Linked DNA regions of Homo sapiens: regions 1, 2, 3, 4, 5 and 7 are each linked to region 6. Evidence: promoter capture Hi-C in 16 types of primary human blood cells and fetal thymus (Javierre and others, 2016). All regions are on one chromosome and are shown on one strand. Each heading gives the region's core, a stretch centred on a gene start or on the middle of the fragment in contact. The rest is flanking DNA. Distances are from core to core; before and after follow the strand shown. Region 1 has its middle 13 kb from the start of EGFL6. Region 2 overlaps OFD1 (OFD1 centriole and centriolar satellite protein). Region 3 holds the start of LOC107985656 (a long non-coding RNA gene). Region 4 has its middle 30 kb from the start of EGFL6. Region 5 has its middle 6.3 kb from the start of RAB9A. Region 6 holds the start of TLR8 (toll like receptor 8). Region 7 overlaps RAB9A (RAB9A, member RAS oncogene family).

What was found. The method cuts DNA at HindIII sites, captures the fragments that hold promoters and counts their contacts. A CHiCAGO score of 5 or more calls a contact.
Region 1: a fragment that was not itself captured here is called in contact with the fragment with the promoter of TLR8 in region 6 in 1 of 17 cell types (total CD8 T cells); the score reaches 5.0 in total CD8 T cells.
Region 2: a fragment that was not itself captured here is called in contact with the fragment with the promoter of TLR8 in region 6 in 2 of 17 cell types (M0 macrophages and monocytes); the score reaches 6.8 in M0 macrophages.
Region 3: a contact is called between a fragment that was not itself captured here and the fragment with the promoter of TLR8 in region 6, in 3 of 17 cell types (M1 macrophages, monocytes and M0 macrophages). The highest score is 6.7, in M1 macrophages.
Region 4: a fragment that was not itself captured here is called in contact with the fragment with the promoter of TLR8 in region 6 in 1 of 17 cell types (non-activated CD4 T cells); the score reaches 5.2 in non-activated CD4 T cells.
Region 5: a fragment that was not itself captured here is called in contact with the fragment with the promoter of TLR8 in region 6 in 1 of 17 cell types (M0 macrophages); the score reaches 6.1 in M0 macrophages.
Region 7: a contact is called between a fragment that was not itself captured here and the fragment with the promoter of TLR8 in region 6, in 1 of 17 cell types (M0 macrophages). The highest score is 5.5, in M0 macrophages.

Annotation. Positions count from the first base shown.
Region 1 is chrX:13,554,671-13,558,142 of GRCh38, reverse strand. No RefSeq gene overlaps it. Among named protein-coding and RNA genes, the nearest start is that of EGFL6, 13 kb to the left of the region's middle. The HindIII fragment of the contact is 1,453 bases long and covers 601-2,053 here.
Region 2 is chrX:13,755,832-13,759,230 of GRCh38, reverse strand. It overlaps OFD1 (OFD1 centriole and centriolar satellite protein), which reads right to left. Exons shown (of 23, transcript NM_003611.3): 13 at 2,464-2,653; 14 at 1,441-1,571; 15 at 783-894. Among named protein-coding and RNA genes, the nearest start is that of OFD1, 23 kb to the right of the region's middle. The HindIII fragment of the contact is 1,283 bases long and covers 1,012-2,294 here.
Region 3 is chrX:13,664,181-13,667,645 of GRCh38, reverse strand. It overlaps TCEANC (transcription elongation factor A N-terminal and central domain containing), which reads right to left. Exons shown (of 5, transcript NM_001297563.2): 5 at 2,237-3,465. LOC107985656 (a long non-coding RNA gene) reads right to left here and starts at 1,571. Exons shown (of 3, transcript XR_002958816.2): 1 at 1,176-1,571. The HindIII fragment of the contact is 3,880 bases long and covers 1-3,465 here.
Region 4 is chrX:13,537,742-13,541,043 of GRCh38, reverse strand. No RefSeq gene overlaps it. Among named protein-coding and RNA genes, the nearest start is that of EGFL6, 30 kb to the left of the region's middle. The HindIII fragment of the contact is 346 bases long and covers 1,568-1,913 here.
Region 5 is chrX:13,681,062-13,684,495 of GRCh38, reverse strand. No RefSeq gene overlaps it. Among named protein-coding and RNA genes, the nearest start is that of RAB9A, 6.3 kb to the left of the region's middle. The HindIII fragment of the contact is 4,496 bases long and covers 1-3,434 here.
Region 6 is chrX:12,904,720-12,907,958 of GRCh38, reverse strand. It overlaps TLR8 (toll like receptor 8), which reads right to left and starts at 1,339. Exons shown (of 2, transcript NM_138636.5): 1 at 1,250-1,339. The coding sequence starts at 1,252. It overlaps TLR8-AS1 (TLR8 antisense RNA 1), which reads left to right. Exons shown (of 5, transcript NR_030727.1): 4 at 1,708-1,769. The HindIII fragment of the contact is 3,594 bases long and covers 1,224-3,239 here.
Region 7 is chrX:13,698,530-13,701,865 of GRCh38, reverse strand. All of the region lies in intron 1 of RAB9A (RAB9A, member RAS oncogene family), which reads right to left. Among named protein-coding and RNA genes, the nearest start is that of RAB9A, 11 kb to the right of the region's middle. The HindIII fragment of the contact is 5,121 bases long and covers 1-3,336 here.

The DNA.
Region 1 (3,472 bases), core at 78-2,577, 650 kb before region 6:
ACAAGTGAACAATTTGTTTTAAGAAGGAACGAGGTGACGTTGAAGATGAAGCCTGCAGCTGAAGATCATCCACATCAATTTGTGAGGAAAAAATTCACCTTGTTCATGCCCTAATTGAAGAGGACCGACGATTAACAGCAGAAGCAATAGCTAACAACATAGACATCTCAATTGGTTCAGCTGACACAATTTTGACTAAAAAATTAAAGTTGAGTAAACTTTACACTCAGTGGGTGCCAAAATCATTGCACCCACATCAACTGCAGACAAGAGCAGAGCTTTCAAAGGAAATTTTAAACAAATGGGATCAAGATCCTGAAATTTTCTTCAAAGAATTGTAATGGAAAATGAAACATGACTTTCCCACTGCCATGCCAAAGACAAAGCACAATCAAAGCAATGGCTACCAAGAGGTGGAAGTGGTCCAGTTAAAGCAAAAGTGGATGGGTCAAGAACAAAGATTATAGCAACAGTTTTTGGGAATGCTCAAGGCATTTTACTTGACTTTTTGGAGGGCCAAGAAACGATAGCATCTGCTTATTATGGGAGTGTTTTGAGGAACTTAGGCAAAGCTTTAGCAGAAAAATTCCTGGGGAAGCTTTACCAGAGAGTCCTTCTCCACCACAACAATGCTCCTTCTCATTCTTTTCATCAAACAAGGGCAATTTTGTAAGAGTTTTGATGGGAAATCATTAGCTGTCCACCTTATAGTCCTGACTCTCTCCTTCTGACTTCTTTTTGTTTCCCAATTTTAAACAATCTTTAAAGGGTGCCCATTTTTCCTCAGTTAATCATGTAAAAAGACTGCATTGATATGCTTAAATTCCCAAGACCCTCAATTCTTTAGGGATGAACTAAACTGCTGGTATCATCAATTACAAAAGTGTCTTGAACTTGATGGAGTTTACGTTGAGAAATGAAGTTTCTATTTTTATTTTTATCTTTTAATTCAGTATTTCCAGGAACTTTTTGAGGTCCCCTCATGTTACTAAGTCCCAAATGCTCAAGGGATCATTCAACATCAGGAAATGTGAAAAAATAATACAAGTGTGAACTTTGGTGATAAAGCAGCATAGGATATCCTACTCCTTAAAAGAGGGAAAAAAAATGATGTCTTTACAGTAGTTGCTCTGTATTGTTTAATTTTACTTCCAGTTTGAAAGAGCTAAGTTAAGAATCTCCTGTTCCCTATCATTCTTAATGAATTGAACTAAAGACCTCACCTAAACCTGCCATGGGTGTCACCTAGATGTCAACAATACTATTGAAGTGTAGCCCAGGTCTGATCTCATCACCCTGAATTTTGCATGATCCATTTTCCTGTAATGAGAGTCCCAGGCATAGATTTATGAGATCAAATATAGCTGGACTTCTAGGACTCACAAACCAAGTGATTTATCTAAAACTGCTACTAATTCTTGGTAAAGGTGAATCATTTGATGTTGTATTTCTTCACTCATCTCAGAGGGTTAATGAGAATAATTTTAGGATATAAGACATTTAGAAAGTTTGTATTCTCATTTGAGTGTAGGTAAAAATAGATCACAGGCACCACTTTTAAAAGAGGTGGGTCAAAGCCTGCCATCCATGGTATTATGCCATGATTCCCTTCTGGTGCCTTTCCCTTTCTGTCCAACTCAAATTTCTTCTAAAACTGAGAACTCTGGTTTCCATTCTTATTAGTAAGGTTATGGGCATGAGAAATGATGAATTATAAGACAAGGTCTCACTCTGTCACCCACACTAGAGTGCAGTGGTGCAATCATGATTCACTGCAACCTTGAACTCCTGAGCTCAAGCGATCCTCTCACCTCAGCTTCTCAAGTAGCTGGAACTACAGGTACACACTACCACACCTGGCTAATTTTTGTATTTTTTTGTAGAGATGAGGTTTCGCTATGTTGCCCAGGCTGGTCTCAAGCTCCTGGACTCAAACAATCCTCCTGCCTCGGCCTTCCAAAGTGTTGGGATTACAGGCATGAGCCACCACACCCAGCTAAAGTCAGTGTTTATTGCAAGAATTTTGCTAACACTTTCTAACATTAAAAAAGCTTATTAAAAAGACATGTCCTGTTTTGCCTCTTGTGTTCTATAATAAGGCTTTATTCTGAAGCTACGTAAGATCTGCAACACTCACAAACATGCCAATGAGAAAATTCAGTCAAAAAATGTTTATCATATGGTGATGTAGGGAAACATTTGTGTTTCAATGAAAAGCAATGCATTGTTTAGATCACACTCTTCTTGGTTTTCTGACTCTAGCCTCTCATTGCCTTTGAACTATTTTACAACTCTTCAAGTTATAGGTGACTATAGCAATGCAAAATCACTTTTATCTATAGATGTGTACATCCTGTCCGCTGGAAGTTCAAGTGACTTTCCTCACCCAAGCCCTTGGCACACACTTTTGCATTTAGTCATCATATCAGCCTATGACATAGGAACTATTATCATCCCCATTCCCCCATCAGGAAACGGAAGTCTAGAGAGATCCAGAAACTTGCCCAAGTCACTTTGCTGGTAAGCAAGGAAATCAGGATCAAACCCTGTCAGCCCGATGAATACAAATTATGTTAGTTTTCAGGTTATCATAGAGAAAAGTATGTTTATGGTCAGGAGGGAAGACATTCCTACTACCAATTTGTCATCGAGTGTAACTTGTGTTGTTAATTTCCTCCTTATAGAGTTATTTTTTTTAATCTAAATAGATTACAGTTCCATGGCTTACCTCTGCATTTCTCTCTGTACCTTCTTCCTCTCATCTCCAAAGGACAGACACCATCTGTGAACAGGTGCAATGGTATTTAAAGAGGACAACCCCTCCTCTAGGGATCTCAATGCTAGTGCTCTAAATATGGCAGGCAGAGCTGGAAACCCTGCTGCAGTGCCAAGGAATTTCCAGGATTCCCAGCGAGTGTCTTGAGGTCTCTTGGAGATATAAACCTTTTGTAAAAAGATCTCCTTGGACTGATCTGGATGGTATAATTCAAAGCATGCAGCCCTCGTGTCAGAGATGCTCTGGGTTTGAAGAACCTGGGCTATTTTTTAAGGAGTCCTGAAAAAAACCAGAAAAGCTCTCTCTTGTATAAGTCCTGGAGTAGCTGGCACCAGGTCCCCGATCTGCCTGCACTTGGACTGTGGCATAGCGAATAGAAAGTGTTATATAAGGAACATTTGAAAAGGAACTTTGAGAGAGGACTGCTCTGTTTCTGAAAACTTGATAGCTCAAAGCAAGACCAGGTTTATATTTTTAATTTTTATTTTGGAAAGTTTTAAACATTTGCAAATGTAGAGCAGTATAATGAGGCCTCATGAACCCATTAGCCAGCTTCAACTATGACTGTCATTCTGACATTAACATTCCTCTTCTATTTTGCTGGAGAATTTAAAGCAAATCTAATGCATTTGTATACTTTCACCAGTAGATACTTCTGTATTATCTTCTAGCAGATAAGGCCTTTAAAATAATAAC
Region 2 (3,399 bases), core at 404-2,903, 850 kb before region 6:
CTGATGAGGAAACAATGCAGGTGGGAACAAGGAAGGCTCAGACCCAGTTGAACTGGTAACACATACGTACTTTCTTTGAACTTGAAAGCAACTGAAGAATAAAGTATCTGAACTTTAATATCCTTCTTACGAAGTAGGAAGGGGCAGAGATGCATCCACAGTGAAGACACAATAATAAAATGATACCAATAACCATTTCCTGAGTGTCTTTTATGTCCCAGGCACTGGACTGAAACCCATTTCATCTTTTTCATCATGGCTCAGTAGGTATTATTATCCCCATTACAAATGAGGAGACTGAGGCCCAAGGAAGTTAAAGTAACATGCCCAAGGTCAAACAACTTCAAAACGGGTCCAAAAGAAGAACAGTTCTGATTCTGAAGGCAATATTCTTTTTGCTAAACCACCCTGCTTGTCCTGTATATTTATATATCTATCAAGGAATCCGTAAAACTACTGAATTGGTGTTAACATTGGGGTAACAAATAAAAAAGGAAATCCTATAATGAATATGGGGACTTCTATGTTACCACCACGCCTTTCCTATTGGGGCATGAGACTCTCCCAAGCCATGAGGCACCTATGAAGCAAAATACTTTTGCTGATGATCCAGATGGTATTACCAAAATGGATAGGGAGTTTTACTTCTAAGATGACACATATTTCTATGGCTTTTCCCCTAAAACAATAATTAATATTCAATAAATTATGATCATTACATTTTCACAGACACCAGAAGCTTTATACATACAAAAATATTTATGGGTTAAAACGTCTCTAACCTGTCTGAGTTTGCTTCAGTTGCAATTTTAAATCGGCAACCTGAGTAGTTAAACTCTTTACAGAAGCTTTGTAACCTAGAATCTGGGCCTTCAGCTGTGCAGAATGCTCAATCTGAAAAGATTCAGAATAGGAAAAGAAATCAATGTAAAACAAATCACAGCTTGCTTCAAAAGGAAAAGTTCTCTTATCATGTTTGTACTCTTTTTGTTCTGCCAATTCCAAGAAGCTTTATGACAGTAAACAACAGGGTCCCTATTAAAAAAAAACACAAGCAGAACACACAAACAAGTTCTTCACCATCTTTTTCAGTCATATCAAAGAACTCTAGGGCATGCAGGCAGAAATCAGAAGACAGTGAATGTTTGTAATACTTATCAGGGTGAGAATCGAGAGATAACAGTGGGCACCATCAGGCACTCAGAAAATTTTATGTTTAGGTGAGTTTGCTTTCTTCTCCATTTTATTACTATTACGAATATAAAGTCACGTTATCACTGCAGAATTTTCTCAGATGAGAAAGGATACCTTTAGCATATTTGGGGGAGTAATGTTTGATGTTAAAATAAATCTGATTTACACTAGTGTGACTTGTGCCAAGTTTACGTAACTATGAAGTGTACTGGTATCACACTAGAACTGAAGAAGAGCAATACTCACTTCGTCTTGCAGTTGTTTGTGCAGAGCTTGCCTGCAGCTTTCGAACTCCTCATGCTCAACCACTATAGCCTTTTCGGCTTTCCGTAGTTCTTTCTGAAAGACTGCAAGTTCAGGAGCCGGCTGAGCTAGGCCTAAGAAGGTAAAAAAAAAAAAAAAATCCTAGTCATTACCAACCTTAAGTTTTCTTATTTAACTTAACAAAAACAGTTAAAGGGGTTTTAAAGTGTTCTTTGCTTTGTACTGACTCAATAAATATGATAATAATTCTATTAAATGAGCTCAGAGCAATCCTGACTCTCAAATTTCACAACAAAAGAATTTAGTGCATGTTAATGCAAACTTTATTACCCTTGGAGTCCTACTCCAAGTAAAAGAACTCTTTCAAATTCTCAAATTAACCTGAAAGCCTGTTTCTCTCCTCTACTGTGCACAGAAGGAGCTCTCTATCTGGTCTACCTGTTGATGACAGCCCTGGGATCCAATATGATCTGGGCATCTGACAGCAGCAGTTGGGATCCAGGCAGAAGGCAGATGGCTCTCACGGTCAAGGTCATCTAAGAACCCTTTAATAAAGGTTGACTTATTCAGGGTATGCACAAAGGATGGTGGAGTTCCCTGGGTGGGCTAGTAACAGGGCCATACTGTTAGCGCTCCTTGGGCCTGGGGAATCAGAGGAGGGAGAAATTCTCAGCACTAGAGACAGGGTGGTGGTGCAGAGCACTTGGAAGAGGTAATCGCAGGCACTATGGCCTCACTTGGCCATGAGGCACAGTGGCCAGCCTAGGGCCACTGTATGTAGAGGCTGGTGTCCCCACTGGCCAAACCCAATCAGCAGTCAGAGGGCAAGGGAAGCTTTGATACCACCTATAGGCAGGTTTGCAGAGTTTAATCCAAGAATCTTAATTTTATAAATCTTCCCAATGTAAGCCCCCTACCTTATACAAGTACAAAGCATAGTTTTATAATACTGACCTAATGCGAATTACTAAAACACGCAAGTCAGAAGAAAAGAAAAATACATACGGTTTAGGAGACGCAGGTTTTCATTTCTACTCTCTTCCAGTTGTTGTTTAAGTAATTTATTTTGTGCCAGAAGCTCCAGTTTCTCTTCTTTTAGTAGTGAATAATCACTCATCTCTTTAACCTTTTCATTCAGCATATGGTTTTGTTTTGTTATTGCCAAAGACTGGGCTTTGACAGACTCTAATTCAAGCTAAAATTCAAAAAGGAAAATTTACATTTGAATAATGACTTTACAGTACTGCAAAAGTAAAAGCTGGCAGGCTCCTTTAAGCATGGTGTCACAATTTAATTAAGGTCACTAGACAGAAGTCTGATTCTCTACAATAAGACTCTAACTACAATAACGAAAATTATCTTCCGCCCTACAGTTGGGGCAGAACTTTTATAGGCCGCATCCCATGAAGCAAGTCCTTCTAAGATTATCATCCCATTTTCCAGAGGCAACCAAGAACCCAACAATAATCACACATCATAGCAATATATATTTTTTAAATATGAAAGGTAAGATAAAAATGGCTGAGCATGGTGGCTCACGCCCGTAATCGCAGCACTTTGGGAGGCTGAGGCAAGAGGATTGCTTGAGCTCAGGAGTTCGAGACCACCCTGGGCAACATGGTGAAACCCCATCTCTACTAAAAATACAACAATTAGCTGGGTGTGGTGGCACATGGCTGAAATCCCAGCTACTTGGGAGCTGAGACATGAGAATCACTTGAACCCGGGAGGTGGAGGTTGGTTGCAGTGAGCCAAGATCACACCACTGCACTCCAGCCTGGGCGAAAGAACAAGACTCTGTCTCAAAAAAAAAAAAAAAAAAAAAAGGGAAAGAAAGGAAAAAAGATTCTGTAAAATGTTGTGAAGTGCTTCCCTTTTCTTAGTATATCTCATATTTGAGTAAAAAGCCTACAAAGTTCTCACATAAGTCACAGTTGCTAA
Region 3 (3,465 bases), core at 466-2,965, 760 kb before region 6:
GCATTTCTGATGATGCATGCTAACATTTGTGGAAATCTATTATTATTATTATTTTTTAGATGGGGTCTGTCTCTGTCACCCAGGCTGGAGTGCAGTGGTGCAATCATGGCTCACTGCAGCCTCAATCTCCTGGGCTCAGGTGATCCTTCCACCTCAGTCTCCTGGGTAGCTGACACTACAGGCACACACCACCACGCCTGGCTAATTTCTATATTTTTTGTAGAGACGGGGTTCAGACTGATCTCCAACTCCTGGGCTCAAGTGGTCCTCCCACCTTGGCCTCTCAAAGTGTTGGGATTACAGATGTGAGCTACCACGTCTGGCCAGGAATCCCAGTTTTAAATAATAATGCAAATGGGACTATATGAGGTTGTCATCTGGTCTCCCTTCTGATTGTGGGGCTCTTCTGAAAGCCTAGGTACTTACAGTATCTGAGAGATACAAAAATAACTACTTTAGTAAAATATTTTGCATTTACTGGGAAGTTATAAATAACAAAGCAATCTGACCCAGAAGATGAAGGCCCAGCCCTTGCCAAAGCAGTGGAGCACTGCCAGCTGCAGGCTTCCTGACTGGTATTTAGAATGGTAGTGGCGAATGAAAGGAGCCTCTCATCACAGGAAGTGCTCAGGGAAGAGACAGAGCTCCAATTGTATCCAACTTTTTATCTCAGAAAAGTAACACAGACAAAAGGAGAGTGATGTGGGAAAATCCATCAAGAGTCAAGAGAGCGCTCCTACATTCAGGTATAACAACTGGTGTTTATGCCCTATGCAGGGACTCCCAGTAATCATGGCAACCCGAGTATAGGATATACTTGTCCAATGCTGAATTTCTGCATTGTCTATTATTGTTTATTATGGGCCATGGGTAGGGAACTTGGGATTTAGTGTATTTTATGAAATATCCATTTGCAAAGTTGTCAAGGACTTTGCTGACTATAAGGATTCGGGGAGCCCAGACTCTGTGTACTCTTGCTTGAAGCCAGTTATTTGACATTTGGATCACTGCCAAGGGTCACCTGTTGTCCCTGCATGCATCCTTGCTTCCTTCCCTTCTAATTCAATATAACAGCCAGAGTGATCCTTCCTAAAGGGTGTTAAATCTCATCACCACAAACTCCCCAGCTTCAGTGGCTTCCCATCATGTTTTAAGAAACGCCCCCAAATCCTTACCATGGCCGACCGACAAGAGCCCTCACGATGGCCTCTTTGACTGCATCTCTCATCCTTGTTCCCCTTGCTCACTGTGACTTAGCTGCCGTGGACTCTTGCTGGAACTTGCGTGTATCAGGCAGTCTCCTGTCTCAGGGTCTTCCATTTGCTGTTTCTGAAAAAGCGATTTTAAATTAAAGAGTCTTGGCCAGGCACGGTAACTCATGCCTATAATACCAGCACTTTGGGAGGCCGAACACTTTGGGAGGATCGCTTGAGCCCAGGAGTTTGAAACCAGCCTGGCAACATGAAGAAACCCTGTCTCTACAAAAAATACAAAAATTAGCTGGGCATGGTGGCACGTGCCTGCAGTCCCAGCTACTCAAGGGAGTGGGGATGCTGAGGTTGGAGGATTGCTTGAGCCCGGGAGGTTGAGGCTGCAGTGAGCTGAGATGGCGCCACTGCACTCCAGCCTTGATGACAGAGTGAGAACCTGTCTAAAAAAAAAAAAAAAAAAAAAAAAAAAAAAAAAAAAAAAAAAATCTTTACCCTGCAGTCAATTTTAAAGAAAGTCCTTTCCTTTTAGGGGAAAGGACATAGGATCTGAAAGAATTACCTATAGGCAGAAAATGTAATGCTGTCTCATTAACCAAAAGAAAAACACACAGATTACTATTTTCCTATCTCAAGTTGCAAAACTCACGAATAAAGATGAAATGAAATGAGGAAGACCACGCAGATTGGTTTTTTTGTTTGTTTGCTTGAGGTGGAGTTTCTCTCGTTGCCCAGGCTGGAATGCAATGGCGTGATCTTGGCTCACCGCAACCTCTGCCTTCTGGGTTCAAGTGATTCTCCGGCCTCAGCCTCCCGAGTAGCTGGGATTACAGGCACCCGCCATCATGCACAGCTAATTTTTGTATTTTTAGTAGAGACGGGGTTTCACCATATTGGCCAGGCTGGTCTTGAACTCCTGACCTCAGGCAATCCGCCCGCCTCGGCCTCCCAAAATGCTGGGATTACAAGCATGAGCCACCGCACCCGGCCAGACCATGAAGGTTTTTATATTTTGGAGAGTAAGGAAATTTCCATTTTAATTACTTTTATTTGTCTGAACATTTAGTTTGCCAAATTCCAATATAAATAAAAACTACACACATACACACAAACCCCCAAAGCAAAACATAAACACCGACTTGAACTAATCAAATTTGGTTTTTATGTGCTGTGCTCTTTCGTAACCACTGAATAGTTTTTCAGATTATTCCAAGTCATATGAAACCACACTTTGTGAAACTTCAAGTTTTAGATGACCTTGCAAGTTAAGGACTAAACATGTTGCATCACAAAAAGCAGCCCTGGGAAGACACGGAGAGCAAGTATATCAAAATAGATTTTACACTTGATGGCATTGAGCCGACTCTTCCAAATTATTTGAAAATACGAACATATTTTACTTTTATGCATGTTTTGGAGAATTCTGTCAGGCAGGTAAAGTGTACACACAGTTAGGCCTTCAGAGCTCCAACAAAGGAAGAGAGTTAGGAGAAAAGAACTGGTGAGAAAGTGAAATGGTAGGTTTGTAGAGACCGCCAAAGTAAACTTTTTAAAACTATAAAACGGTGAACATTCCATGAGTTTTTTAAGGAAAAAAAATCAGCCATAATCACATAGAAGGCGTGTTGTAGTCAAACAATTATATAAACTGGTTAAACACTGTTTGCAAAGGCCTCAAAGAGGTAATTTTATCTTCAATTCATTTATTAGATAAACGTCTGTTACTACATTCAAAGGCTAAAGTGATGGGCTTCCTCTGACAGACTAATGACCATTAATGTCCATCTCAAGGACACTTGTCCTTGAGAACATGAAGACTCCTGACATCAGAAACTAAACATCCTAGAGTTTACATACCCCCGAAAAACCTGTTCACAGGGGGAAAAAACAAAAACAAAAACAAAAACAAAAAACAACTACGAAACTCCTTCAACTAAGCAAGAGGGCTCCAAACAAAATTCTAACTGCGGGATGAGTTCCAGGGTGACTTTTGTGGTTGAAGGGAGACCTATAAATGAGAAAAGAGAGGGGAAAAGAATGAAGATCTAGTCACCCAATGTTGGAGTTTAAACACATTCTTCATTTTGTCCCCGACCTCCAGGAATACATTTCTCAGAAGTCGATATTGAGCCAGTCTCAGTGAGTCAGGAGGGAGAAAATCTGGGATCTGTCAGAATTGGTACTATTTATGGTTGTGTCACTTGGACATGTCACCACACCTCTGTGGACCTGTTTCCTCATTCGTGAAGTGCCTGGA
Region 4 (3,302 bases), core at 491-2,990, 630 kb before region 6:
CTGCAAATCGGGTTATTTTCTTTGAAATAGGAATAGGAAATTGAATGGAATGGAATGTCCTTCCACCCATCTTTCATCAAAGGAATTTTTATTGTAAGTAGCACCAGAATCCTGGGCCTGCCTCTTGAAAGGAAAAATGAAACACATCTCTTCCCACCTCCTCTGCCAACAGGCATTAGCTATCCCAAATATTAACAGAGATAACCTCCCAGCAAAAGATGTAGGCCCTTAGATTTCCTTATAAGCCCTTAGAGGAAGAAAAAAATATACCGCCCTAATCCCGAGTAATTCCTGAGCTATGCAGCTCAAACAGAAAGTCAAATAAAATAAAAGTATATCTTTCTTAAGTGAAAACTGTTTTGCAATGAAAGTCAGGGTTATTTATACTGGCTGTGACTGAGTGTTGCCCTCAGAGGCATCTTTGCATTTCCCACAAGCCATTACAAGTTGGGTGCTGCTCATCTTTGGTGGAGAGAAACCAGTTCCTGATCATATTCCCCTCAGCCAGACCCGCCATCAGCTGGTTCCCCTTAAGTCCTTATCTCCCTGTTACGTCCCACTACCATTTCCAGGAACAATGTTTTCTTTTTTATTCCTTTTTTTCCCCCCTTTTTTAGAGACAAGGTCCCACATGTTCCCCAGGCTGGCCTTGAACTCCTAGCCTCAAGGGATCCTCAGCCTCCTTAGTAGCTGGGACTATAGACACATGCCACTGCCTGGCTCGGGAATAATGTTTTAATAACTAGGTAGCAACAAGGGAAGAAGAGCTCTAATGAAAATATCTCTGGGACACTCAGAGGCTGGGCCAGGCTGTAAAGTAGAAAAATTTTTGAACCTTTTCCACGCATCTGTCAGGAGCAACCCAAGCCAATGTTGTTTTGTCGCCTCCACAGCTACCTAAGGGTTGTGCGTTGTTCTACCTTTCTTTTTCTTTTTCTTCTTGTCCTGCTTTTATATTTAAGAAATGAAATTGTATTATTTTGGGTAAGTTCAGGAATCTTAAGGCATGCCAAATTACCTGGGCCAGGTGGGTAGTCTCCCATATATATTATCTAATAAGAGTGAGTATCATTCTATCATTATTATTTATATATTGTTATTATATATGAGTTTAATTTAAATCACTTCAGTAAGCACTGAGACTTTTATGTGTCCAATTTGTTTTGGGCACCAGATATACAATTTCATATTATCTCAAAGGCATTTTGAGCAGGGCTTAGATGTATAAAAGCAGCTTCTCAAAACACAGGGTGCCTCAAAAGGTCAAGGACCTAAAAAACACAGATGGAATCTGGATTCTGACCAACAGAATATTTTAGCTGTGTCCAGAGACACATGGGTAGGCAGAAGAGACAGGCTGCTGTCTGCTAGGAACGCCTTTTTGTTGGTTTCCCCTAGTTGAATCAGCAGCCACATCTGCCATGTTGGGGCAATCTAGCTGTTAAATGTATCACAGGACTGATTAACTGGAAGGACGGAGTGGCACTCCAGGTATGCTCACTAGGGAGTATAATTTGGAATTTCTTCTATTTGAAACATTTTCTTGAGAAAAATATTTAGAGAAGCTTGGCCAAATAGTATATGGTCCATCCATTGCTCTAGGTTAGCACTGCTCAAAGGTGTTTTGCATCAGAATCAACTGATAAGGCAGTTAAGAGTACGTATGTTATGGCTTCATCCAAGGGTCATTAATTCTGAGGTTTAGGAAGGAGTCTAGACAGATGAATTTGGAATTAGGTGGCTCTTATGTCTGCACATGGTTACCCTTTCATGAACACCTCCATTTTCCATGAGGTCCTCACCCTAGCACACGTAAGGGATTCACTACACAGTCATGGTAATACATTTGGGGACACGCTTCATGGAAACCTGTCAAAAGGAAGGGAGTGGTACTTACATAGTTTGAAGAAGCTTTCCAGTTGATTCAAATAGGCCCCCTCATTTCCCTGTCTAGACCAAGAATCACAGCTTTACAATTGATCCTTGTACTAAACAATCTATCAGAAAGCTGTTTAGGCCAGGCACAATGGCTCATGCCTGTAATCTCACCACTTTGGGAGGTGCAGGTGGGAGGATCACTTAAGCCCAGGAGTTCCAGATCAGCCTGGGCAACATAGGGAGACTGTGTATCTACAAAAATAAAAAATAATAATAAATTAGCCAGGCTTGGTGGCAGGCACCTGTGGTCCCAGCTACTCAGGAGGCTGAGATGGGAGGGTCACTTGAGCCTAGGAGGTAGAGGCTGCAGTGAGCTGTGATCATGCCATTGCACTTCAGCCTGGGCAACACAGTGAGACCCTGTATAGAAAAAAAATAAAAAGGAAGCTGTTTAACTGGACAAAGATATATTGATTTCCAAGCTCTTTGCCTAAGAATTGTCTTTCGAAACTTTCGGAGTTGCATATTTGCATTGGCCTTACTAGAAGAACAAACGGATCAAACTTGTTTATTTTTCACAGGGGTGTTGATGAGGTCCTTGTTAGGCACTTTTGCCCCATCCTCTTTGCTAGGACTAGGGGAGAAAAGAACTAAGAATTAGTTTATGCTTTCTGGATGCTGAATCAAGTAACTGCCTATGTCTCTCTCTTTGAGTTGGCTGCTTGAAGGCTTAGAGCCTAAATTTTGGCCACAGTATGCATGTTGAGTAGTTCACTCTTGGCTGCTTCTTATTTTTCTTTACCTAATTTCTTCACTTACTTTTTGTTTGTTTGAGATAGAGTCTCTCTCTGTCAGGTAGGCTGGAGTGCAGTGGCATGAACACGGCTCACTGCAGCCTTGATCTCCTGGGCTTAAGTGGTCTCCCACCTCAGCCTCCTGTGTAGCTGGGACCACAGGTGTGTGCCGCCACATGTGGCTATTTTTAATTTTTTGATTTTTTTTTGTAGAGACAAGGGTTCACTGTGTTGTCCAAGCTGGTCTGGAACTCCTAGGCTCTAGCAATCCTCCCGCCTCAGCCTCCCAAAGTGCTGGGATTACAGGCATGAGCCACTGGGCCTGGCCAAGTTCAGAGCCCTTAATATATCAATAATATTTGTTTTAAGTTTCTTATCTGATAATTTCAAAATCTGAATCACATCTAAGTCTGATACTGATGCTTGTTTTGTCTCTTTAGACTGTATTTTTTCCTTGCCTTTAGCTTATCTCATAATTTTTTTTGTTGGAAGTGATCATGATATATCTGGTAATAAAAACTGAGTTAATTAGGCTTTCAGTGTAAGGCTTTATGTTAATTTGGCTAGGAGGTGGGCTATGTTTAATGTTAACTGTAGCTATATGTGCCAAAGGCCCTACCCAGACTAACT
Region 5 (3,434 bases), core at 252-2,751, 780 kb before region 6:
CTCAGGATAGTGATGCTGAAGTGTTCCTCTTCCAGCCGCGCTGTGATCTTCTATCTAAATACCCAGTGCTCATTTGCAGCTTTCTTTACTTTTTGGTTTAAGAGCTGAGACCGCCATCACTCTCACATAACCAGCTTCTTATCCTCTCACCTCCCCTACCCTCACTCCATCCACAGGAGTATAAATAATCCAAGCTGGTGCTGGATCCTAGTCACAGCTACATCTAGGCTCTGGCTAAACGAAATCCCTGATTAAATTTGATAAATCCCTCACTCTATCTACCTAAAAGTGGAAAGGGTGAACCCTCACTGGTGGAAGACATTATGTGGACCATTTCTGTTTCATTTATATACTATGTCCCGCATGCAATAAAGTGTTAGATATGCAAAGAGGGAGGAAAAAGTGACTAATAAGAGAAAATAATAGAATTTCATTTGTAATGACTAATTTGGATGTACCTCAGGAATGCAAGGGTAGTTTAACATGAACAGTTCAAAGGGAAAACAACATGCAGTCAACTCAATAGGTGAAGAAAAAATTCATTCAATTAAATTCAACACCCATTTGTGATAAGTAATCTCTTAGCAAACCAGGAATAGAAGGGACTTCCCTAACCTCATAAGGAATATCTACTAAAAACCTATACCAAACATCATTCTTAATGGTTAAAATCCATTACGTATGCCCTTCAAAATAGAAAAAAAAAAAAAGATAAGAATGTCTGCTCCAACCACTCTCTTCAACATTGCATGGGAGGTCCTAGCACACAGCAATAAAAGCAAAAACGTGTGAGGACTGCAAAGGGAGAAACAAAACTTATTAAACACAGACAATATGATTAGAAAATCTAAATCACACTATAGAAAATCTATCATTGAAAGGGTTTAACAAGGTGGCTAGATAAAAAGTGGTTAACAAAAATAAGTTCCCTTTATATAACCAACAAAACACAGGAAACATCGATTGTTTTTTTGTTTTTTTTTGTTTTTTTTGTTTTTGTTAACTTTTGCCCACTTTTTTTTTAAAATTATTATTATACTTTAAGTTTTAGGGTACATGTGCACAATGTGCTGGTTAGTTACATATGTATACATGTGCCATGCTGGTGTGCTGCACCCACTAACTCGTCATCTAGCATTAGGTATATCTCCCAATGCTATCCCTCCCCCCTTCCCCCACCCTACAACAGTCCCCAGAGTGTGATGTTCCCCTTCCTGTGGCCATGTGATCTCATTGTTCAATTCCCACCTATGAGTGAGAATATGCAGTGTTTGGTTTTTTGTTCTTGCGATAGTTTACTGAGAATGATGATTTCCAATTTCATCCATGTCCCTACAAAGGACATGAACTCATCATTTTTTATGGCTGCATAGTATTCCATGGTGTATATGTGCCACATTTTCTTAATCCAGTCTATCATTGTTGGACATTTGGGTTGGTTCCAAGTCTTTGCTATTGTGAGTAGTGCCGCAATAAACATACGTGTGCATGTGTCTTTAAAGCAGCATGATCTATAGTCCTTTGGGTATATACCCAGTAATGGGATGGCTGGGTCAAATGGTATTTCTAGTTCTAGATCCCTGAGGAATCGCCACACTGACTTCCACAATGGTTGAACTAGTTTACAGTCCCACCAACAGTGTAAAAGTGTTCCTATTTCTCCACATCCTCTCCAGCACTTGTTGTTTCCTGACTTTTTAATGATCGCTATTCTAACCTACTCATCTGACAAAGGGCTAATATCCAGAATCTACAATGAACTCAAACACATTTTTTTTTTTTATAGACAGAGTCTCACTCTGTCGTCCAGGCTGGAGTGCAGCGGTGCAGTCTCGGCTCACTGCAAGCTCCACCTCCCAGGTTCATGCTATTCTCCTGCCTCAGCCTCCCAAGTAGCTGGGACTACAGGCGCCCACTACCACGCCCTGCTAATGTTTTGTATTTTTAGTAGAGACGGGGTTTCACCGTGTTAGCCAGGATGGTCATGATCTCCTGACCTCGTGATCCACCCGCCTTGGCCTCCCAAAGTGCTGGGATTACAGGCGTGAGCCACCGTACCCGGCCAAAACATCGATTTAAAACTATATTAACTTCAATAACAAAATTATAAAATACTTAGGAATAAATCTAACACAAAAAGAGAGAAGACCTTCATGGAGAAAATTAGGTGTGGTACCTGAATGGACTAGAATTGTGCTGTTCAATATGGTAGCCAAGACGCACGTGTGGCTATCTAAATTTCAATGTAAACCAATTAAAATGAGATAGCATTCGGAATTCAATTCCTAAGTCATATTAGCCTCATTTGCACTGCTCTATTTAGGCACATGTGGCTAGTGGCTACCCAACTGATGGAGTAGATATAGAGCATGTGCATCAGCACAGAAAATCAGACAGCACTGGACTAGAATATGTCCATCCATCACATATACTTTCAATTAGAATGCAATCATTTATACTACACTGCTTATGTCATACCTCTGTATTAGTCTGTTCTTACGCTGCTAATAAAGACATACCTGAGACTTGGTAATTTATAAAGAAAAAGAGATTTAATGAACTCACAGTTCCACTTGGCTGGGGAGGCCTCACAATCATCGCAGAAAGCAAAGGAGGAGCGAAGGCATGTCTTATGTGGGGGCAGGCAAGAGAGAGTGTGCGGGGGAACTGCCCTTTATACAACCATCAGACCTCCTACGACTTACTCACTGTCATGGGAAAAACCCACCCCCACGATTCAATTACCCCCCACGACATGTGGGGATTATGGGAGCTACAATTCAAGATGAGATTTACGTGGGGACACAGCCAAACCATATCAACACCCATAATGGAAATGCAGAAGAGAGCTGTAAAGTTTGCTTATCTTCTTTTTCTTTTCTTTTTTCTTTCTTCTTTCTTTTTTTTTTTTTTTTAGATGGAGTCTGACTCTGTTGCCCAGGCCAGAGTGCTGTGGCACGATCTCGGCTCACTGCAACGTCCGCCTCCAGGGTTCAAGCGATTCTCCCGCTTCAGCCTCCCGAGTAGCTGGGATTACAGGCGTGCACCACCACGTCTGGTTAATTTTTGTATTTTTAGTAGAGACAGAGTTTCACCATGTTGGCCAGGCTGGTCTTGAACTCCTGACATCAGGTGATCTGCCCACCTCGGCCTCCCAAAGCGCTGGGATTATAAGAGTGAGCCACTGCGCCCAGTCAAGTTTGCTTATCTTCTAAGTTTGTGGGGGATATTTGTCTTTTGTAGGGGATGCGGTTTGGTTAGCATCTGAAAGTCCTTCCGACACTTAAGAAACCAACTATCTTGTGAGTCTTTTCATTATAAAAGTCCCAATGGAGAGACACTTGCTCTTCCAGTACCCTGACAACAAAAATACAGAAACGAGACCCAAGACTAGCCAATCAGATACTCTCTTTGAAGAGCTGAGTCTTGGGCAA
Region 6 (3,239 bases), core at 90-2,589:
ATTGGCCCAGTTGACCGAATTCCATATGGGCCACCTACAGTCATTTTGTAAAGCATTGTAAAATTTTAGTGCAGAATTAATTTACCTTCAAGATCCATAATGAACATTAGGTGGGTATAAAAATTAACTTCAGGCCGGGCGCGGTGGCTCATGCCTGTAATCCCAGCACTTTGGGAGGCTGAGACAGGCGGATCACCTGAGGTCAGGAGTTCGAGACCAGCCTGGCCAACATGGAGAAACCCCGTCTCTACTAAAAATACAAAAATTAGCCAGGCGTGGTGGCACACACCTGTAGTCCCAGCTACTTGGGAGGTTGAGGCAGGAGAATCGCTTGAACCCGGGAGGCGGAGGTTGCAGTGAGCTGAGATCACGCCACTGCACTCCAACCTGGGTGGCAGACCCATTAACTTCAAAAGACTTAAGTGTACTTTAAATTGTTGTCAAAATTAACTCCAAGGACTTTGGGGAAAAATATATAGTACATTTTGGATGAGACTCTCTTGAAATCAGACTTTTCAATTGCTCTTAAACCTCATTGAATTTTCTAGAAAATGTATCATTTAAAAAGAAGTGTAAAGTTCATTTTTAGTCTGACAGTTCTTGACAATAACAAAAACGGACCACCTGCTATGTCTTGACAGTGTAAAATAATAATTACAGAAATTGTAGCATGTTATTAGGTTGGTGGAAAAGTAATCACAGTTTTTTGTACCAACCTAATTATTTAAAACTCTGACCAAGAAAAGTAGCAATTAATGTCGAACTTTAAGCCTCCAACAGTAGGTTAAGCTCAGGCTTCACTAGGATCTAGCAATTGACCTATGTATGTGAAGGAAGAGAGTTTGTCCTTTTCTACAGAAATAGCAAAGGAAGAATATTTCCCTCACCTTCTCTTCCAACCCTGTTGTTCTGGAAGAGGATATTGTCTCTGGTAGGGCCAGTAAGTAATATTTCCAGTTCAATTTCTAACTTGAAATTTTCTTATTTTCCTGTCCAAATTAGTAAGATCATCACTGCATTTGATTTTCAAAATTTACTCTCTAATTCCTTTATACTAACGTGTGCACAAATTAAAGATCATAGCAAGCCGCTTTACCTGCATTTACAGTTGTTTCGATCTTTAATTTTTATCCTTATTTGCCCATTTATTACTTTCTAGGCTCACACCATTTGCCACCAACCCAGATTTCTGGGTCAGAAACCCCATATTCTGTTGGAAAGCTTTGCTAAAGAAATAGAAGTGGCTTACCATGTTTCTGTTGTTCTAATTTTTCATTCCGTAACTTGCAGCAGCGCAGAATGGTACCCTCTATGCAGGAGGTGGCCGAGAAGAGAAACTGGCTAACTTCCTGAAATGGCTCTATTTACCATCAGCAGAACGTAGCGTGTGTTTTACAGAAGTTTACATGAAAAGAAGGGAACTTGTGATTTCTTAGCTGTTGCCAAATCATTAATTGACTGTGCTTTAAAACTTTGAAACTGAAGTTATGGGAAAAAGTCATTTATGAAATGATTTAAATACAACCCAAATCAGACACACACGACGTATTTTTGTTAGTTTTTGTGTATTTGTGTGTACAGGGGAGAAAAAGGGAACATTATTCCATTCACTAAGAAAACTTCAGTGTATTCTTTTTTAAAAAAGTTACCATAAATTTGTACTGAACTTCGGATTTCTCAAACTCGTCTTCCTTGTGTAATTCACAGATGTAGGCGAATAACATGAACATTGCTTCATCTTTGTTCCACAAGTTTCTGAGACAGCACCGGTAGGTATGGGTCTCCCTCCCACTGGGCTGTGGCCGCAAAGCGAGCATCTTTCTCCTGGGCGCCCCATGCCTCCTCCAGCACCTGGCATGTAGTATAAGCTCAATGAGTGTTCATTGTATGAACGAGTGAGTCAATGGCTGAGCATTCGTGAGGCTGGAAAATTTAATCTTCCCGATTTAGTCTGATAAATGGATTCCATTTTATGCTCGGAGAGCAAGGGCCTCAAAAGGTGTAACCAAGAGCAGAGGTCAGCAAACTGCAGCCTTTGAACGAAATCCGGCCCAGAAGTGAAAACATTTTTAGATGAACATTGGCAATGGATTTGCTGATACAGAACACTAACTTTAAATTCCAACCAAGCAGAATGTTAGCACCTCCAAAAATGATTCCATTCTTCTCATTATTAAACCTATACTACAAAAAAACTGCCTTCGATTATTATTATTACATTTTGAGTTTCATCAATTACATAATTGTGGAAATTTTTATTTTACTATATAAGTAGCTACATAATATGCCAAATTTGCTTCTTGGCCTGTAAAACCTAAGATATTTGCCATCTGGCCCTTTACAGAAAAAGTTTGCTGACCCCTGGCCACAAGAATAAAGTTTAGAACGGGATGTGATATGTTTCATCTTGCCTTACACCCCAGGAGTGGGAGAAAACCAAATTGGCAGCAGGGTGGGCAGAGATGACATCCATATATAAATGGACTGTGGAACACCTTGTTATGAAGGAAGGCCTGTCAGCAGTCAAAGAATGGCTTGGGTGGGTATACCTAGATGGACCTCTAAAGATCACACCCTAAGGGAATTCAAGACCTGGTGCATGGTTTGAGAGGTGATTCCTGTGACATCAGAGAGTGCAGCCTGGGCCTTCATGGGCAAACCAAAAACATTTGTGATTGTAAACCCAAAGGCCTCGGCTGGCCGCATCCAAGTCTCTTGGTTTCCCTCCAAACATTTGCTTGGAAATAAAGTAAAGAAAGTAAGTAAGAATGGATCGAGTGCAGTGGCTCACACCTGTAATTCCAGCACTTTGTAGAGGCCGAGGCAGGAGGATCACTTGTGCTCAGGGGTTTGAGACCAACCCGGGCAACATGGCAAAACCTTGTCTCTAAAAAAATACAAAAATTAGCCAGGCATGGTGGTGTGCACCTGTAGTCCCAGTTACTCGGGTGGCTGAGGTGGGAGGATCGCTTGAGCCCAGGAGGTGGAGATTGCAGTGAGCCATGATAGTGCCACTGCACTCTAGCCTGGGTGACAGAATGAGACTTTGTCTAAAAAAACAAACAAACAAACAAACAAAAAACAGCGAAGTAAAAATGACTTCCAGCCGTTGACTGAGCAAGGATCCTTGGAACTGGAGAGTTTGTCAGCTTTCTAGAAAAGCGAGACTCACATACCCTGGCTTCTAGGCCACCAAGTGTCAGCCAATTGTAGACCAGTCAATTGGCCTTGTAAAGCAT
Region 7 (3,336 bases), core at 233-2,732, 790 kb before region 6:
GAATGAAAATTGAGGTGGTTATACCTCACACTTGATCCTCCAGTAAGATATTTACTATATGACTTCGTGTTTTACCTTGTTCACATTCAAATCCCTGGCCCTTTACCTGTCTAACTCCTAGTCAGCCGTGTGGATGCAGCTAGACCTCACCTCCTCCCGAACACCTACTGGACATCTCCAACTGAACCCCCTTCCTCGACACTCTTAACCATCCTGTGCGTGCCTCTACCATTTACCATAAGGAATTCTGTAATTGACATGCCTACTATGTCTAATAAAAGTGAAACATGCTCTCTTAACCCACATTACATGGATGTGTACTATCCAATTACAGAAATGTCCATACATTTCTGAGTTGTCAATGTTTTAGATTGCACCAAAAAAATGCATACCCATACTATTATCAAACCACCTTCCCCTAAAAAGAAAGACAATGTCCATCAATTAATGAATGGATAAATAAAATGCATCATACATCCATGCAATGTTGTAACGTAGATAAACCTCAAAAACATTATGCTAAGTGAAGGAAGTCAGAACAAAAGGCTACCTATTGTATGATTCCATTTATATAAAATGTTCAGAATAGGCAAATATGGAGATGGTAGATTCATGGTTGTCAACGGATGGGGCGGGGGGCAGTGGCAGGTAAAGGAGGAGGGACTGCTAATGGGTATGGGGTTTTTTTGGGGGGGTAATAAAAATATTCTGGAATTAGATAGTAGTGATGGTTGTACAACTCTGTGAATATACTATAAACACCAATCAACTGTATACTTTAAAAGGGTGAATTCGGCCAGGCGCCATGGCTCACGCCTGTAAACCCAACACTACGGGAGGCAGAGGCAGGCAGATCACTTGAGCTCAGGAGTTTGAGACCAGCCTGGGCTACATGGTAAAACTTCATCTCTACAAAAAATACAAAAATTAGCTGGACATGGTGGCGCATGCCTGTAGTCCCAGCTACTCAGAAGGCTGAGGTAGAAAGATCACCTGAGCCTGGGGAGGTCAAGGCTGCAGTGAGCTGTGATCACATCACTGCACTCCAGCCTGGGTGACAGAGTGAGACCCTACCTTGAAAAAAAAAAAAATTTTTACTGTATGTGAAAATATATGTGCAAATCTCCTGAGAATTAAAAATATGACCCTAGAATTAGATTTACACTACTAGAGCTACAAATGTTCTCCTTGTCCCTTCAGCAGCATCCCTTTAAATAAATCATTTACATGTACAACAGACACTACTTTAGGATTCCCACACCACGTGCCGGTACCAACATATGCTGTATGTGTCATACACTAATCCGAATGTAAAGTTGGATAAGCAGGTCACTGGCAGGAAAACAAATGAACCACATTGCCAGCAGATACGGCAAAATTCAAAAGACAAAAGAACATTTTATGTTAACCCTTTCCTTCTTATAACACTATTTTCCCAACTTTTCCATTATGTACTTTTATCTTATACTATCAATTGTTCATGAATAGTTTATCAGTAGTACCCTTTTCTCTGGCCTTCTCCAACCCCTTGCTGGCTTCCAAAGCCACATCCTACAATAAACCAAGGGGAAGAATAGAAAGCCTCAAGGTCCAAGCATCAAGAATTTAAATCTGCTGGCCACGCACGGTGGCTCATGCCTGTAATCCCAGCACTTTGGGAAGCCGAGATGGGCAGATCACTTGAGCCCAAGAGTTCAGGAACCAGCCTGGGCAACATGGTGAAACCCCATCTCTACAAAAAATACACAAATTAGCCAGGTGTGGTGGTGCCTGCTTGTAGTTCCAGCTACTTGGGAGGCTGAGGCAGGAGGATTGTTGGAGAGGCAGAGGTTGCAGTGAGCCGAGATTGTGCCATTGCACTCCAGCCTGGGTGACAGAGTGAGACTCTGTCTCCAAAAAAAAAGAATATAAATCTCTAATATGACTGTGTATGTGACTGAAGTTAGACTTTTTTTATTGGTCCTGGATCTAATTGTCTCCATTCTGACAGATAACTAAATTCATTTATTTATTATTTTTATTATACAGGATTTTGAGCATGGCATTCAAAGAGCTATTCAATGTCAGTTACAAGCCTGTCCCAATTATATCCCTACTACTCACCATCCCCGCACCTATCACTGGCATTTTCTGTCCATATCTTTGCTCGGGCTGTTACTTTGGCCTGGGAGGCCCCTCCCTACTTCGACAGCTATGACAATCTTAGTCATCAGAAGCCTAGTCCAGATTACCTCATGTAGGAAGCCAGGACCGCCCCAGCAACCTAATCTTTCTCTTTTCTTTGCTCTCATCATTTCCACCTCTTTACAGCTCTCATTTACTTATGCTCTAATCACCTTCAGTTGTGTATGTGTCTGTTTCCTAATTACAATGTCAACTCCCTGGGAGGGACACACAACACCTAATTGCATCCATTCACTTGTCCCTTTTTTGTTCTGCCACTTCTCGTACAATGCTCTACATTTGGTGAGGTGCAAATAAATGCTACATTGAGAACGAAGAGTATATTACTTCCTCTTTTATTCTTGTTATTCTATTATTATTCTATTTGTGCTTTCTGTACCTAAAATTCTTTGTTTCTCTATCAGTTCTCCCCGCATTCTATTTTTGAGGTCTATTAAAATGTGTGGGTAGGAACAAAAACATTGATTCTTACTTGCAATCCCAATGAGAATCCCACTTTAAAATAAGTACTATTGACTGACTGCGACAGGGAGCTGGCAAATGCTGAAAAACGACTACATTCCTTAATAAGCTGCCAAAGGGAGAGCAGGCATCATTTGTAAACTGCCTTCTCAAAACTTGAGATTTTAAAACACATACTCTGTAACCCCTCCAAAAACTTAAAATGAATTTATCACTCCTGGTTTAAATTTAGGAACAGATTTTTTTTTTTTTTTTGGTCAAATTCACAAGTTCCTTTGGATTCACCCTGAATGTCCTACTTAGAGGTGTACTTACCACTTCATTTCACTTCATAGCTTGAGGAAATGAGGTTCAAAGAAAACCAGGGAAACAAAAGCATGGATAATCTGAAAATTATTTCTATTTTTGCTGGAGCTGTATTTATTTCCTCATAGCTTAATTTAGGCGTGTCTCACTTAACAGCCTAATTGGTTCCACTGTTTGTTTCTAAAAACTTCCTGATTGTCTTACAGAAATTTATGAGCAAGAAGCAAGTCAAGGAAAGTCATTATGTCTAATGGGTACCAGCTCTACAGCAAGAAATTACCAAGAAAAATAAATAAAGAATTAAGAAAAATACTGTCAGAAAATACCATACTTAGTGTGCAGGAAGAAGCAAAAGAAAGAAAAGGAAATACCATAGGAATAGGC